Regions from separate parts of the Homo sapiens genome. Here region 1 is linked to region 2. The links are contacts of gene promoters, found by promoter capture Hi-C in human tissues and cell types (Jung and others, 2019). All regions are on one chromosome and are shown on one strand. Each heading gives the region's core, a stretch centred on a gene start or on the middle of the fragment in contact. The rest is flanking DNA. Distances are from core to core; before and after follow the strand shown. Region 1 has its middle 240 kb from the start of GALR1. Region 2 holds the start of MBP (myelin basic protein).

What was found. Contacts are between HindIII fragments. The study calls those that stand out against the background at their distance.
Region 1: a fragment that was not itself captured here is called in contact with the fragment with the promoter of MBP in region 2 in 2 of the 25 tissues and cell types used here (heart left ventricle and lymphoblastoid cells).

The regions. Positions count from the first base shown.
Region 1 is chr18:77,484,962-77,490,174 of GRCh38, forward strand. No RefSeq gene overlaps it. Among named protein-coding and RNA genes, the nearest start is that of GALR1, 240 kb to the left of the region's middle. The HindIII fragment of the contact is 3,373 bases long and covers 1,253-4,625 here.
Region 2 is chr18:77,131,474-77,135,424 of GRCh38, forward strand. MBP (myelin basic protein) reads right to left here and starts at 1,310. Exons shown (of 9, transcript NM_001025101.2): 1 at 1,107-1,310. RefSeq lists a silencer at 275-1,574. The HindIII fragment of the contact is 18,599 bases long and covers 1-3,951 here.

The sequences.
Region 1 (5,213 bases), core at 1,689-4,188, 360 kb after region 2:
GGTTACTGGTACCACTGGGGTTCTTGGCTACTTGCTTAGGTTGGGTTCCCTAGAAGCAGATCCTGGACAGAGGTCTTTGCAGGTGATCTAACATGGAAGTATTCTCAGGCAAAACAAGCAGAGCCAGGAGACACTAAACAAAGCCTGGCAATAACTGAAGGCTAGCCTCAGTGTGATTCCAGGGGGAGCTCCGAGGCGTGCCTGGGTCTGCTGCTGCATCCCTGTGTTAGTCGTGGTTGGCTGTGGACTCCCCCAGGTTGCAGGAGAGTACACTTCTAGGCATGTCATGGTGAGGTAGCTCCTAGTAGCTGCAGGCAATTCTTCAGAGAATAGTACAACTGTGAGCCTGCAGCAGCCAACTCCAGCACAGCTCTAGAAATGGGGGTGGGTCGTGTCTCTTTATAGTCACCGACTCCAACTGTGTGCTCAACGCTACCTAATAATCATACTATAATTCTAATGCTCACTCACTGAAGGGTTGTCTATAAGGACTGTTTTAAACCTTCTGGACCTTGTTAAACCTCCAGTTCCTCAGCACACACACCCTTCCTTCTCCCCAGATGGCCTTGGGCCTTGCTTTACAGAGAAAATAGAAGCTGTCAGGCAAAGAAACCCTCAACTTGCTGGCTCCAAATCCATCCTTCCCTGGCATCTGTGCCCACACCGCCTTCCTGCTCCCTGGTTAAATGGGAAAATGGGACACCTGGCCCCTCCCCACCCCACACACCTGTGGGAAGACAGCGCATTCACTTCTGCTGGGGGCCAGACCCTCACGGCTTTGAGGAAACCATGCCCCTCTGTTTTATCTTCAATGTTGCCCTCCCTCAGATCCTTTTCCTATTAGCATCTTGAAACTTACAGGTTTTGTACATCTCATGAACAATACCCAGTGATCCTCCAAGGAAATCCGCATACCTCTCCAGGGCCTGTCCTGTTTGGCTCCTCCCCTTTGCAGCAGTCCATTTCCTCACTGCTTAACAAGTTTGAATGCTGCTAATTCCCCACTGAGCCTGAGCAAGCCAAGAGAGAAGTCACGGATGTGGACACACCCTAAGGTGTCTCCTGGTCATCCTACCTACTACCATCTACACCTCTGTCCTACTCCCTGCCCTGGAGTGTGAGCCAGGTTGGTGACTTGCTACTTACAAATCGATGACAACAAAGGTGATGGTTTGCCCACATGCTTAGGTTCTGTAACCTGACAGGGGTGATAGGCTGTCCCTCCTGTGCGTATATCACATTAAATAAGACTCTGTGAGGGCAGATGAGCTGGAGCCATCTGTGGGCTGCATGGAGCTGAAAGTCATGCTGGAAAAGTGCACGTGGCTGGTGGCTGTGAGCTCTGGGGAGTCTCTAGGGCCCAAGGGTGGCACCCTCCTAATAGCCCTTGGTTGTACAACCATAAGGAAAGGTATTCTGCCAGCAACCTAAATGAGCTCAGAAATGGATTCTTCCCCAGCTGAGCCTTCAGATGATAATGTAGCCCAGCCAATGCCATGCTTTCAGCCTTGTAAGATCCACAGCAGAAGATCCAGATAAACACATGAATGAAAGTTGGAAAATTTACATTCATGAAAAAAGCATGAAAAACGGTGGCTTAGTTCAGAGTACTGAGTTCAGAGTAATTTATTTAGCAGCTCTACATCCTTAAATTCCAGGTGCGATTTTTCATGTGCATTCCATCATTCACTCATTTGTACATTCACATGAAAAAAGCAGCTCAAGATTTATCTCAGAGTAATTCAGATCAGCCACGCTTCTTTTAAAGTGTGATTTAACTAAGACCTGCATAAGGAAGATAAGAATTTCTGGTGATGAATACCAGCTGTAGAGTATTCCGCACATGAAGATGGGACAGTTCCATGTCATCAGTTACATTGCTTTGAAATAAATAATGAACAGATTGCTCATATTGACTGGCTGGAGGGAAGGCCCATGAAGGCAGGTATCATTTTAACCTCAGGACAACACCGGCCTTCAATCACTGCAGTGAGAGATATGTAAGTCAAGGAGGAGCTATGCAAAATACTGAGTTTGTGTAACGCAAAGTTATGAATTTTAGAAACCTGCATCCTTCAATTTATCCTAATAGCAAAACAGGCTCAGTGCCAGTCACTTTGCTGAGAGTGAGACATGATGCTAAGAACTGTGAAAACAGGAAAACAATGAACAGCTGAAAAGAGAAGACCAGCAGTATGTGGGTAATGAGTCAATCATGCTGGGCATACACTAAACATGTCCTGGTGTCACTGCTAGGAAATAAACGTTGCCAATGACTATGAGCCTGAGTCATTCATTCTAATAAGTGTTCTTGATAGAAAACGCAGCCAAGTAGGCAGCAATTTTAGAGAATTTTCAATCTCTAAATTTTGAATTGTGAAGAACAACAAATTTTGCTTATTAAATGGGCATCATGTTAGTTTTCTACTGCTACAGGAACAAATTACCACAAACTGAACAGCTTAAAAAACACAGGGTTATGTTCACCTGAGAGTTCTGCAGGTCAGAATGCTGGGCGATGCTCCTCTCCAAAGGTTCTGAGAAAGAATCCACTCAGGATGCTGGCAGAATTCAGTTCCACGCGGTTGTAGAACTGAAGCCCTTGTTTTGTTGATGGCTGTTGTCTTCACAATGCCTTTAACTTTTAGAGAAAATGTTTTATTTTCTCTGTTTCTTAGTAGTTCCTTCGTTTTTCTGGCTATTTGGTGTGGCTTCTGTCTCTGCTATTGGACCCTGGCATCTGAGTGTTCTTCCTTAGGAAGCAATGCAAAGCCATTAGGAACGCCGTCTGCAGGGGTGAGCACGTGGCCTGCAACCTTCAATGTCATGTGTCTCTTTTTACTTGAGTCACCCAAATGCTTGGGTATGTTTGCCTTTTGGTGGTGGTTGGGTATCTCTGAGAAAGAGCTTCCAGTTTCTTGCTTTGGGGAGAGCCTGGCAGCTTTGGTTGGGGAGACAGGGAGGTCCCTGTTCCAATCTTTCATCTCCAGCTGCTTGGTTTTTCACTTGCTGATTGTGTGTGTGTTTGTAATGTCCTCTTGGTGTGTGTTTGTAATGTTCTTTTGCCTTCCTCAGTGTCTAGATATGGAGGATTTCTGATTGAGTGCCTTTAGAAACTATACTTTTCGTCTCCTGAGGGTTGGGGAGGGGTGGTTCTAACCACCCCTTCAGCAGAAACTGGCTGCTCTAGTTACTTGGCTATTTTCCTGTTCTCCAGGTGAGCTGGCTTCCTCCTAATGGTTTCGGAGACATTCAAGCTTCATCTTCCTTTGTTCTGCTAACTCATTTACTGTTTCAACTTTTTTTGCTTCATAAATTTGGTACTGGGCTACAAACGTCTCCTTGTGTCATTGAAGATGGTGTTTATATGTTTTGTTCATAATTCTCTTTTATTTGGGGGTGAAATAAAAGACTATATAGGTTTTTACCTCATCATCATGAAGCAAATGAAGCTTGACTTCATTTTACAGGTGAAGAACCTGATATTCAGAAAGACTGGATGATCTTCACAAGGTCACACAGCCGTTTGTAGGTTTCTGGTTTCTCAGTCTTTGTGTGATATGCGCTTACAGACTTGACAGTAACTTTCAGTTCCTTTCATTCAGCCGCTGGTTGCCAGATGGAAGTGACCATACACATGGGAAATGAAATTTAAACTACAGAACAGGGTATTGCATGAAGGCAAATTTATATTCTGATAAACAACCTGACCAATGTTAGGCTATTAGTCCTTCCTTCCTTTCTTACAGCGCTCTTCAAAACTCAAATACTGCCTAGAAAAGTATATGTAGGTATAAATACATAAACCATTTGAATGCATAAAAATTGTATGGGATTTCTTAAATTTGCACATGGGACTTTGAAAGACTTTCATATTTCTTGAGAAGGTTATTGCAAAGCCTGAACAGAATTACTCCTTGATCACAGGACCTGGCAAAGACTTTATGACAAAGATGCAAAAAGCAATTGCAACAACAAAAAATTGACACCTGGGATCTAATTAAGGAGCTTCTGCACAGCAAAAGAAACTATCAACAGAGTAAACAGACGACTTAGAGGATGGTAGAAAATATTTGCAAACTATGCACATGACAAAGGTCTAATATCCAGAATCTATAAGGAACTTAAACAAATTTACAAGCAAAAACTAACCCCATTACAAAGTGGGCAAAGGTCATGAACAGACACTTCTCAAAAGAAGACATACAGATGGCCAACAAGCATATGCAAAAATGCTCCACATCACTAATCATTAGAGAAATGCAAATCAAAACCATGGTGAAATACCATCTCACACCAGTCAGAATAGCTATTATTAAAAAGTCAAATAATATCACATGCTGGTGAGGTTGTGGAGAAAAGGGAGCCCTTATACACTGCTGGTGGGAATGTAGATTAGTTCAGCCATTGTGAAAAGCAGTTTGGTAATTTCTCAAAGAACTTAAAACATTCGACCCAGAAATCCCATTATTATACCTAAAGGAATATAAATTATTCTATCATAAAGACACACTTGCAAATATTCACTGCAGCACTATTCACAATAGCAAAGACAAGGAATAAACCTAGATGCTCATCAATGGTAGATTAGATTAAAAAATGTGGTACATATGCACCGTGGAATACTATGCAGCCATAAAAAGGAATGAGATCATGTCCTTTGCAGCGACATGGGTGGAGCTGGAGGACCTTATTTTAAGTGAACTAATGAAGGAAACAGAAACCTATTACTGCATGTTCTCCCTTATAAGTGGGAGCTAGACATTGAGAACATATGGACACAAAAAGGGAATAACAGACACCAGGGCCTACTGGAGGGTGGAGGGTGGGAGGAGGGAGAGGATCAGAAAGCTACCTATCAGGGACTATGCTTATCACCTGGGTGACGACACAATCTGTACACCAAATCCCTGTGACACACGATTTACCTGTATAACAAGCCTGCACATGTTCCCCGGACCTGAAATAAAAGTTAAAAAGCAATTGCTCCTTGGTGAAATTACCACAAGGATTCTGATGTTCCTTTGCTTTTCTCCTCCCCTTACCTCCTTCCCATGAATCCTCAGCCACGGACCCCCCTGCCTGGCATCCAGGGCCCTCTCCCGCTCTTCGTGGTGTCAACATATTTGCTAGGATGGTTCTTTTAACATCAAAAAACAAATCTCTAGTGCTGTATGAAATCTTCAGTGCCCTCACATCTCAGAAATGCTTAT
Region 2 (3,951 bases), core at 60-2,559:
GCACCCAGCGAGCCCACGCGCCCCTCACCCACGCGCAGAGAAACCGAGCACTTGTTGATTCTCACGTTGTTGCAATTGGAAAACGGAACAAGGAACCAGAGCTCGCCTGTTTCCAGCCAGAGTCGCACGGGGGTCCCCAAAGACGCTTGAACCTTTTCCCAAGCCCCACTCCACCTTCCAAAACGGGGGGGCTCAGGTGGACGCGAAAGGACACAAGGCGCTGCCCCCAGCACCCCGGAAAATCTAGTGTGGCGGCAAATGACCGCAGGTCACACACCCCGGCCTCGGGGGCCACGGAAAACGGACGCACCCGGCCCAGGACAGGCAGTGGGGCCCAGGAGGGGACTGCCGGGAAGACCCGGGCGGGCCGGCGGGCGGCTGCGGGCGGCGCACGTGGGCCCAGGTGGGCGCAGCGACGGGCCCGGCCGAAGAGCCCGAGACAGGCCCTGCGAAGGCGGAAGCCCGGACCCGGGCTCTCCTGGCCGCCCCTGGAGCTCAGAGGGAGACTGCGCTTCGCCCCGGGGGCAGGGGCAGGAGCGCGATCGCGCGCGGGGCCCCCGGGGTGTGATTAGCAGGCGCCGCGAGCCGGGAGGACCCCCCAGCCCGCCCTGGCAGCCAGCACCCTCTCCACACCCGCCCAGAGTGGCCGCTTTTGACCGCCGTCCCCTCCCACCCTAGACTCCTCCCCTCAGCCCCACGGCCCGAGGCCGAGCGGTTTCAGCGACCCTGGGACCGCCGGGCCTGGCTGGAGTCCACCCCTGGACACCTGTCAGGGTCGGGCCCCGGCGCTGTAAACCCGCGTCTACACCCGCGCCCAGCCCCCGCGCAATGGGGATCGGGGGCGGCGACTTGGGTTCGGGTCAGGGAGGCCGCCGGCTGCTACCTGCTCGGCCACCTGCTCCGCTGCCTAGGTTCTCCCTGCGCGTCCCCAGCCAAGAAAGGGACCCGGAGTCCGGGCGTCGGGATAGCTCCTGTCCCCGATCTTGCGCCCCCGGCTCCCGCGGGGCTCCGGTCCGGGGTCCCGCCCAGGTCTCCGCGGTCCCCACTCGGAGGGGCACAGAGACAAAGGCGGCAGAGCAGCCCGCCCGTCCCCGAGGGTCACCCACCGGCGCTGCGCTCGTTGCTCCGAGGCCGAGGGGCGCCGCGGGGTCCAAGGCCCTGCTCCGCCTGCCCAGGCCCGGGCAGGCTGGTCTCGGCTTCAAGCGCCCACGCGCGGGGTCCCCGGGCAGCCTGCTTCGCCTTCCGGGGTCGGGAGACAGGGGCCGCCGGGGCCGGAGGCTGCTTCTCTCTGGCGCGCGGCGGCGGTGACTGACGGCGGCGGCTCCGAGGGACGGGCGCGCACCCAGCTCCCCGGCCCCGCCTCCCCGGGCTTCCTGCGAGCCAGGTAAACACAGGCCGATCCCGCCGGGCCCGCCCCACCTGGACGCGGCCGCCGGCGCCGCCCCGGGAGCTCGGAGGACCCCGGGCCCGCTCTGCCCACGCGGAACTTGGGGGGCGCACGGGGCCCACGCGCAGGGTCAGACCTCGGAGGGGCGGCCTGGAGCCTCGCCCGCTGCCGAACTGGGCTCCGAACTGCGGCCCGTCGACCCTTCCCGTTCGGAGGCTTGGCCTCCGAACCCACCCCGACCCCGACCTCGACCTCGCGGGAGGGGTGCCAGGCCGCATCTCCCCGCGTCCTCAGGGGCTGGAAACCCCAGAAACTGCCGATAGACTTGGCGCAGCCCCGGCCCTGCAGGAGGAGAGTCAGCCCGGCCTGGAGGCGAAAGGAGCCGGCAGGTCCTCCCAAGGCACTCCCTCCCTCCCCTGGAGCCCAGGCCAGGCCCATGTCCGGCTGGCAGGTGCTCCTCTGGGAGCTGGGAGCTGGGAGCTGGGAGCTAGGGGCGCACCTTCTCCTGCAGGACCGGCGCAGGAAGCGTGCGCGGAAAAGACAGCAAAACACGCGCAGGTGCGAGGAAGCAGCCTGGTCCTGCAGCCCAGAGACATCGTGGTCTTCGTCGCTGTCTTGTTAAAAAGAAAAAGCCTGCTGTTTAGCCGTGACTCACCTGCACACAGATTTAGTGGTCAGAGATCTTTCTCTGGATTCTCAGCCTCCTGATGGTGGAAGAGGAGGAGGTTGGGGGAGTCCCAGAATGAGGCCCCGCGTTCCTCCTGACCTACACCCCCAGTCAGGGATCTGGATCTGGAGCTTCCAGGGGACCTGGAGCAGCCTGGGACCCACACAGTTTGTTAGGAAGTGAGGGAGAGGGGTGAGCGCTGTCCCGGCCCGCGCTGGGAGGCGGGACTCAGACTTCAGCACGGGGTCGGGGTTTCGGCCTAAAACCAGCCTCCCCCAAAGCCCCGGAGGATTTAGCAACTGTCTTCAAATGCTGGCAACTGGAAGAGAAATACTTCCACAACGACGCAAAAGCATTCAGTCTGGTCGTTTCCTCAGGAGAGATTTTCAAGTGGAGGGGGCAGGAGGGTTCTGAGACTTTGAGGCTGAAGGTGAGGAGGGAAAAGGGTGCCAAAGATAGTGTGTTTCTCCAATTTTTCTGCCCCACAACCTCACTTTAAGTCAAGGATGAGCGGAGTGGGCGTGGGAGGCTGGACAGCTGCCCTAGGAGCACGGGTGGTGACAATGAACCCGGGTGCACCCAGGTCCCAGCTCAAGTCACTCAAAGCTCAGGCTGGGGAAGCTGGAACACTAAAATGGGTCCCATTTTAGATACCTGCTTTAGCATCAGAAACAGCTTTTCCTCCCCAAAATATCTCTTGGCTTTATCTCAGTGACTCCACAGGGCGGGGCCACCTTCCTGCCTGCAGATGTCCCTGTGTGCTGGGCTCTGGAGCGTCCCTCAGGCCACAGTGACAGCTGCACACGCGGCCTTCTGTTTGGTGCTCCTTCTGCTGGTGTTACAGTGGTTTCCTGAAACACTACATATGCCAACAGTCAGCCCTACAAATGTCAGGCTCCACAAGTTCCAGTTAAAAGTCTTTTTAAAGTATTTATGAAATTTCACCGTGCATATTTTGTTGGGATAGAGTGTCCACACAGATGGGCAGCCAGGCAGTTTAGAAAAGTCATGGATTCTTCAAAGAAAACATGTAGATAATACTATTTAATAAAACAGTGGATTCACATTTGGATCAACTGGTCTTATCTTGGGGGCTTTCATGCCCTCCCGGTTAGAAAAAGGACCCCAGGTTGAGGACAGTGGATGGAAGAAACAGAGGCTGGCATTTCACTGTCGAGAGACAAACTTTCACATGAAGATGTCCATGTAGCCCTCAGCAAAGTGACAGAGATTCGTTGTGCTGAATAAAATTGAAAGGCATCTTTTGACAAGTAACCCATCAAAGCCTCATTGTGTCTTTGACATTTCTAAGAAAATCACATTGCAGTTACCCCCATCTTTCACAAGGTACCGGAGAGCAGAAAGTTTGACCTATCCATCATCTCATATGGCAGCAAATAGCAAAATGTTTTGTGCATGAAATACACTCAATAAATTTTTGTTAAGCTGAATTAAACTCCAAATTACCCAAGCTAAAGGAAGTAAATGAATCTAAATAGTTTCCAACAGACCTCAGACTGCACGAACTTTGAGTTTTCTTTAGTTTCCTCATCAACAGATTTGTCTTTGTTATGATGTTTTGCTTAGGAAAGGACTGAACTTTTTTTTTTCTTTCTTTTTTTTTTTTAGATGGAGTCTTGCTCTGTGGCCCAGGCTGGAGTGCAATGGTGCAATCTCAGCTCACTGCAACCTCCGCCTCCCAGGTTCAGGCAATTCTCCTGCCTCAGCCTCCCGAGTAGCTGGGATTATAGGCAACCGCTACCATGCCCAGCTAATTTTTGTATTTTTAGTAGAGATGGGGTTTCACCACGTTGGCCAGGCTGTTCTCGAACCGCTGACCTCAGGTGATCCACCTGCCTGGGTCTCCCAAAGTCCTGGGATTACAGGCCTGAGCCAC